Regions from separate parts of the Homo sapiens genome. Here region 1 is linked to region 2. The links are contacts of gene promoters, found by promoter capture Hi-C in blood cells and fetal thymus (Javierre and others, 2016). All regions are on one chromosome and are shown on one strand. Each heading gives the region's core, a stretch centred on a gene start or on the middle of the fragment in contact. The rest is flanking DNA. Distances are from core to core; before and after follow the strand shown.

Region 1 (3,698 bases), core at 599-3,098, 510 kb after region 2:
CATCTTTTCCAGTCTTATCAGAAAGGGGCCTTCCTTTTTGTCCTATGTGACTAGTTGCAGCAATTGAGTAGTTTTCTTTTAACAAGGTTAGTAAACTGGTGTTAGCTTTAAGTCTTTGCCTCTGTGGTGTGGTTGCACATGTCCAGTGCTGATTCTTGTGGTTTGAAAAGGATTGGCTATTTACAAAAACCCTGGCCTGTGCCGTGCTGCAGGACTTCCTGCCTAAAGGGTAAAGTGGAAGCCCTTCTCATTTGTTATCTTCAATGTTTTCTGCTTTTCTTTTATATTAAAATCTATTTCATATTTCCCTTTACTAACAAAGGGTGCCTTGAATAAGATTTCTGATGTGTTGCTGCAGAGTGGACGTTCCATACCTGATTATTCTCCTATAAAAATTCTTCTGTATATTTGATTGAAAGTGAAGAAATACCTTGCTTGAAGTAGTTGTTCTGAATATTTTGAAGTGTTATTTCTATCACTTTAAAATTGAATTTATTGTATCTTTATAGCAAAGCAGTTAGCAAGTGAAAGGAAGAGGATATACCTATATGTTTTATTTTTTATTTATTTATTTGTTTTTTGAGACGGAGTCTTCCTCTGTCACCCAGACTGGAGTGCAGTGGCATGATCTCGGCTCACTGCAAGCTCTGCCTCCCAGGTTCATGCCATTCTCCTGCCTCAGCCTCCCGGGTAGCTGGGACTAGAGGTGCCCGCCACCATGCCCGGCTAATTTTTTTGTATATTTAGTAGAGACGGGGTTTCACCATGTTAGCCAGGATGGTCTCGATCTCCTGACCTCGTGATCTGCCCGCCTCGGCCTCCCAAAGTGCTAGGATTACAGGCGTGAGCCACCGTGCCCGGCCATACCTATATGTTTTAAATGGAAACTACTGACCAGCTAAGACTCAGCCCTGTTCTGGACGTTCTGACATAAAAAATTGACTCTTAGTTCTCTATATGAAACAGAGACTAGACAATAGGTATCTAATATTACTAAATTATTTTTTGTAAATTTACAAAGAAAGCAGACAAGTTTACAAAGCTTGTATTTTACTGATTTACTTTCAGACCCATTGTTGACTATAAACACTAATTTTTTATGTGTTTGTGCTTTTCCTCCTTCAAGTGCTTTTAAGATCAGCCATCCACAGATCAAGACCTTTTATTTTGCAGCTGAGAATGTGCAGGAAATGAACGTGTAAGTAGAGGAAACTGGTAAACCCCATCCTTAATGGGAATATACTTAACTTTAGCCTGGTACTGGAATTCTAATCATATGTCCATATCAATTATTATTTTATTTCTGTTACTTTAAGGATTAATTTATTTAGCAGTTACAATGCCTTCGTGCTTTCTTCTCTAGTATTTGGAAACGGTTTGGAGAATTACATGTATCAAAGTGGCTATTTCGGGGAACCACTAAGTTGAAAAAGGAGTGGACAGAAGTCATTAAAAGAACATGTTAAAAGGAGAATCAGCATCACAAGGAGAGAGGCTTGAAAGTATTATGTAACTGATCTTGCAGCTTTCGGAATTCTACATGCAAAATATTGCTATAGCGTTTAATATATGCTGTGTGATTATCGTGATGATTCACGTATTTATCACCTCTCCATGTATTGTCCTGAACATATTGCAAAACGCCTTTGCTCGGAGTACATCAAACTTAAAATTGTAGATCCCTAGCTCCATTTCCAGGGTGGTCTGTGAAAATAAGTGGGCTGTGTGCAGAGTACAACCTGCCCTACACCATTCCTAATGGTTTAGAGTCAGGTGTGATCACAATAGCTGTTATTTATTTATTTATTTATTTTTGAGACAGTCTTGTTCTGTTGCCCAGGCTGGAGTGCAGTGGTGCGATCTCGGCTCACTGCAACCTCTGCATCCTGAGTTCGAATGATTCTCCTGCATCAGCCTCCCAAGTTACAGGCGTGCACCACCATGCCCAGCTAATTTTTTGTGTTTCTTGTGGGTTTCACCATGTTGGCCAGGCTGGTCTCGAACTCCTGACCTCAAGTGATCCACCCACCTCGGCCTCTCAAAGTGCTGGAACTAAGGCGTAAGCCACCGCACCTGGTCAACAATGGCTGTTTGAATCAGGCTGTATTTGAGGTGCTGATTGGAGATATCAGAGGGCATTCTCTTTGATTTAGCCCTATTCTCAGAATTCTTAGTGTCTCTTATTATTTCACATGACCAATTGAAAATATGTTAATGGAACGCCTACCACATGCCCCATTGCAGCAGATGGTGGGCAATGGCAATGAAAAACCCACACATAATTCCTCCATTCACAGAGCTTACGCTTAACCTGTTTTACTTATAATGATTTCCTTACCTATCTGCCCTATGTAGTTCTCATTGCTCTCTTGCTCTAGAAACATGAAGAAAAAAAGCAACTGCCTTTCACCAAACATGTGCATGGACACACACACACACACACACACACACACACACACACACACACACTCCTTACAGGTATCCGCTCAGCTCTGTCCAGCTAGAAGGACTCTCATCTGTCCCCTATCCTCACCTCCCCAGCATCACCCTCCAGATGAGGACAGAATGGCTTTGTACTGTAGAAAGTCGGGAAGCTCTGTGTTAGAAATAACAAGGCAAGGAACGGACAGTTGAGTCTTCCAAACAAAGCTTTGATTTACTTGGACAAAGAGAGAAGTTGTTTCTATCCTTTTTCTAGTTTTAGCTTTTTTTTATCCCCTTGGTTTTCTTAAGCATCTGAGAAAAATAAGAACAGATACACGAATGGAGAGGATGTTAAAATCTCCACATCAAAGATCTTTACTTATTTTTTTTTTATTTGCATCAGTTGCTAAATCCTGTTGGTTAGCAAAGCCCTTGCTGTGTAAGTGGGATGTGGAAGGCACAAGGTCTCGCCCGCTAGCACTTGGAGCCCTGTGATAGTGAGGTCAGTCCGCCGCTGAGCCTCAGTTCATCCCAAATGGTCTTTTCTGGTCTTGAATGGTGGTGAAACAGTGCTGCCCGCCTCTCCCCTGCCCAATACCTCCTGCTGTCCTGGCTTTTCTTTAAAAGTGCCTTGTAGCTCCAGCTTCCATCCTTGGCCCGTCCTTCCCACTCATTCTGTGGCTGATTCCTTGCAAGTAGTTTTCCTCTCTCCAGCAAGAGGTGAGTGAGACAGAGTAGCAGAGAAACAATTGCTTCTCAGTGCTTTGTTTGTTACCTAGTGAATTTCTCCTCCTACACAGTAAGGTGCATTTTTAAACCGATGAAAGTGTGAGACCCTTCCATGTTTATCTGAATCCGTTGTATTTCATGCACGTTTGCTCTGTAAATCCCAGATCCCCCTCCTCACCGCCCCAGTGTTTATTTACATTTCCAGTTTATTTATCTTCCAATTTTATGTTCTCCCTTTGCAGAAACCTATCTAATGGTAAGTAGAGTTGCATGGGTAGATATGATATAAATACTTCATCCTGTTGGCTGTGAAATCAAAGTCTTTCACAGTTATCAACGTCAAGATCTTACCGCCTATCTATGCTATGAAGATCTGTTCATTTTACTTGAAATTCTTTTGGGGGTTATCTTTCCAGCTTACAAAGAAGATGCAAATTGAAATTTGAACTTAAGGTGTCTGGACCCCATGTTTTTGAATCTGTCAGTGACCTTTAGACTTGAAAATTGTCCATCCGGCTAAATGGTCCATTTTGTCTGGGCCTGAA
Region 2 (4,113 bases), core at 600-3,099:
ATTTTAAGAGGTAAATATTAAAGATACTCTTTAACAATCATAGTATCGAATAAAGTATTGGCACTTTAAGAGTTCATAAAATTTATGCTAATTTAGTTACCAGCATAATTACACTTTTTCTTTTTCTTTTTTTTTTTTTTGTAGACAGAGTCTCACTCTGTCACTGGGCTGGATTGCAGTGGCGCAGATCTCGGCTCACTGCAACCTCCGCTTCCCAGGTTCAAGCGATTCTCCTGCCTCAGCCTCCTAAGTAGCTGGGATTACAGGTGCCTGCCACTACGCCCAGCTAATTTTTTGTATTTTTAGTAGAGACAGGGTTTCACCACGTTGGCCAGGCTGGTCTTGAACTCCTGACCTCGTGATTGGCCCGCCTCGGCCTCCCAAAGTGCTGGGATTACAGGCCTGAGCCACTGTTCCCGGCCATAATTACACTTTCCAAGGCGTACGGGTAGGGATACTAATGCTGACTGTGCAGATGTGTACTTGCTATGTTTGATGTTTACATTAAGGCCTATTGAAGTCGGAGTTTAAAAAGAAATTGAATACATCAAAACCTGTCTTCTTCCAGACTAGTAAATTCAACTACACAGTGAAAATGGAATCTGCTTTTTAAAATCTTGTTTGACACGTGAATGAACCAGCGAGAAATGTTTCCCCCATAATCTTCCATCTCTCGATGCACAGATCTCTCCCTACCATTTGTCTTTATGTCGTGATGGATTAGAAGAGGAGCGAGTAAAAATAAAAGATATTGCAGAATAACCTTTGCCTGCCTACCAACCATCCAATTAGCTCAAGTCCCTAGCTGGCAAATTACCTAGTCAACAATGCCTCAATTATAAACACTACGTGTAACGTGACCACAGATCAACACCCCGTAGGTTCATTTCCCCCACCGCCCCCAATCGGTGTTAGCCTCAGTGAGGACCCGGGAAGGTCTGGAGAGTCATGTCCAGCGTCCACTTAAATCCTCAAAGGCCCAGGAAGGAGGTGGGCGGGCCAGGCCTCGGCGGAACTGACCTCGAGGGACCTGTCGGGAGTCTCCGGGTGAGGGCCCAACCGGGTCTTTCCCTCCGAGCTCGCAGCCATTCCATAGGACGCCGGAGACGCCAGAACCTCCCTCCGCCCCAGGGCGGCCCTCCCCCAACCCTCCTCCCGGACCCGGGGGAGGGGCACCCAGAGGAGAAACACCCCTCCCCCACGGGCACTGCTAGGCCACCGCTCACCCCACCCTTAAAAAACCCGCAGGCCCGCGCCCACCCTCCGGGCCCCGGCCTCGACCAGGGGTGGGGGCGGTGCGGGCAGGAGCAGGGGAACCCGGCTGCCATACCAACCTCGCTATTGAAGGTCTTCACGGCCTCCATGTTGTCGCTGCGGAGGCCCCGAGCCCGGCGGCGGAAGAGGCGGCGGCCACTGCACTGGGTGGGGAGAGCGAGACGCGGGCTGCTGCGTGGCCGCGAGGAGGGGGCGCTGGCGGGAGAGCGGGCCGCTGCGACCTCGGGGCGGAGTGGAAGGGCACGCGCTGGCGGGGAAGGGCTCCCTCAGCGGCAGAGCGGCACCGGCATGGCCGCTAGGGCGGGGGGAGCGCCGTTCTAGGGAACAGAGGCGCTGCCGGGGCGGGTCGGCGGCGGGCGGGGGAGGGGCTGGGCCGCGGCGCCTTCTCTTCTCTGCCCCGCTCCGTTTCGGTCCCCCTCCCTCTAGCCCCTTCCCCTACACTCTCCACTCCCTTCTGCCCCTTCCTCCGACGGGCTCCTGTTTCACCTCCCCGCCGCTCGGGCCGCAGGAACCAGCCCCGCTCGGCGAAGACAGAGGAGGAAGCGCTGGCAGCAGCGGCTGCGGCATCCAATATGGCGGACTCGAGTCGGGCCGCGCAGTTCGGGGATCCGCGGCGCCGGCTAGCGCGCCCCCTGGCGACTGGACCGTGCGAGCCCCGGCGGCCGCGCGGAAACCATCGAGCGCGCTGGGGCCAGAGCGTCGCCGCCCGTAGGCCCGGCTGGGCTCCGCTGCCCTCGCCTTGGCTCCGGGGCCGCCCGCGCCTCGCCCCCTCCCCGCGCCCCGCGGACGCGGGAGTGAGCGCTGCGGCATCCGGGGGAACGCCGCGGCGGGTTTGTACAGCAGGAGGAGGCAACTCCAAAGCGCGGCTCTAATAAGAGCCTAAACGTGCCCAAGAAGCGGCAAGTTGAGGAAATGTGCGCGTTTCCCTTGTTTCCCGGTGGATTGGTCCTTTTGCACAAGCGGCAGGGTTTAGTTGCTTTTCACAACTTTACTGGACAGTGCCCTAAACATCCGCAGCCTTCGCCAAGAAAAAGTTCCTGGTCATCTATTTAGTAACTGAACTCAATTGTTTTAACTGCACAGGGAGGGAACATTAGAAACCAAAGCCTTGGATTCGGGTTGGGGCAGGCGGCGAGGGAAACAGGCATGCAGCAGCTCCTTGCAGGAAATGCCCGCTGCATAGGATCCAGGGACTGGAGTGGCACAATGAGCGCATTTGTCTGCAAGGCGGGAAGGGGACCCTAGAATGCACAACACTTGAATAGGTGAAAAGGGAACCCGTCTGTTTCGGAAGATGAATTGTTCTAAAGGAATTTTGCCCTAGGATACTTGGAGTAAAGGTAAATACAGTATTTCTTAGATGGATTAGGAGATGCTGCTAGTAAAAAGCCTTCTCTCTCGTGCAGCGCAAAATAAGGTACCAATTTAAAAATACTTATCGATGTTAAAAGATAGGGATGTATCGTGGAACCCCGAACACTGCTGTCCTCTTGTTGAAAGTCATTTTTCAACAATCATTCCCAAATTCACTCAAAGGGAGAGAGGAACATAAGGGCAGGATCGTACTTTTGGAGAGTTTTGGAATCAAGGTAGTTCCTAAGAGCTGTGCGCAGAGCCCCGTGAAACTGGGAAAGTAAGGCCCTTCTTGAGGTTTCAGAGCCTTCATTCTACTTCATTGGCAGCTTTAGTATAGGGCCTGGCTACTGAGAAGGTAACAGGGATAACTCACCAAGTGCTTTTATATTTACTTTCAAAATCTCAAATTCTGTCACAGATTTCTCCACCGTCTCCCATCTTCAGGCCTAGCCATGATCTTTTACTGACACTTGCAGTAGCCTCCTAACTGGTCCCTTGCTTGTCTTCCTACAGTTCATTTCCAGACAGTAGCCGAGGGATGTTTTTCTTAGATAAATCAGATCAGGTCACTCCCTTACTTAAATCCCTTAAATACTTTCTCATTGCCCATTTGATACCATCATAACTTCTCACCATGGCCTGAAGGCCCAGCCCAGCCTGCCGCAGCTCACACCACCTTCCCTTGCTCCCTGACTCTCCTCCTGCCACACTGGCCTTTCTGTTACTTGACAAGAAGCAGTGTTTTCATAGGTAGGACAATTGTGTCTCTTCACACAGGGTGCTGTTGCTCTTGTCCTTTCCATAGCTGACTCCTCCTCCTTCAATCTTCCTGAAAGAGGTCCCCTAATCACTCCATCTAAAGGAGCATTTACTGTGGCTTGAGAAAGTACTGCACTCAGTTCTGTGCATGCCAGGTTCTCACAATCAGAAGTCACTGCTTTGAGGCCGGGTGTGGTGGCTCTCGCCTGTAATCCGAGCACTTTGGGAGACCGAGGCGGGTGGATCACCTGAGGTTAGGAGTTCGAGACCAGCCTGGCCAACATGGTGAAATCCCGTCTGTACTAAAAATACAAAAAAAGTAGCCAGGCGTGGTGGCACGCCCTTGTAGTCCCAGCTACTCGGGAGGCCGAGGCAGGAGATTCGCTTGAACCCGGGAGGCGGAGGTTGCAGCGTGCCGAGATCGCGTGACTGCACTCCAGCCGGGGCAACAAGAGTGAAGCTCTGTCTCAAAAAGAGAAACAAAAAAGAAAAGAACGGAAAAAAAAGGCGCTGCTTTGGCCTGTGAGGGATTATTTATTAGGTCATACATGAAATGAGTGTTGATGGAATTACTTAGGCCTGAGAAATTAAAATGCAATACAAGCTAAAGGATAAAATCAGTGGTTAACATGCTTCACAATTTGATTTAATAAAGCTTCCGCATTCAGAATGGTAACAGAGGGCATAGTTTGATCAGGGTAAGCAGAGGGGGAAGATACAGAG

Evidence for each region. Contacts are between HindIII fragments. The CHiCAGO score rates a contact against its expected background, and 5 or more counts as called.
Region 1: a fragment that was not itself captured here is called in contact with the fragment with the promoter of SCAF8 in region 2 in 4 of 17 cell types (total CD4 T cells, neutrophils, naive CD8 T cells and 1 more); the score reaches 8.8 in total CD4 T cells.

Annotation. Positions count from the first base shown.
Region 1 is chr6:154,218,757-154,222,454 of GRCh38, reverse strand. IPCEF1 (interaction protein for cytohesin exchange factors 1) reads left to right here. Exons shown (of 12, transcript NM_001130700.2): 7 at 1,127-1,198. It also overlaps a transcript of OPRM1 not described here. Among named protein-coding and RNA genes, the nearest start is that of IPCEF1, 140 kb to the left of the region's middle. The HindIII fragment of the contact is 1,607 bases long and covers 1,045-2,651 here.
Region 2 is chr6:154,731,152-154,735,264 of GRCh38, reverse strand. SCAF8 (SR-related CTD associated factor 8) reads right to left here and starts at 1,849. Exons shown (of 20, transcript NM_014892.5): 1 at 1,335-1,849. The coding sequence starts at 1,364. RefSeq lists silencers at 1,077-1,676, 1,827-1,946, 1,977-2,216 and an enhancer at 1,313-1,816. The HindIII fragment of the contact is 14,602 bases long and covers 1-4,047 here.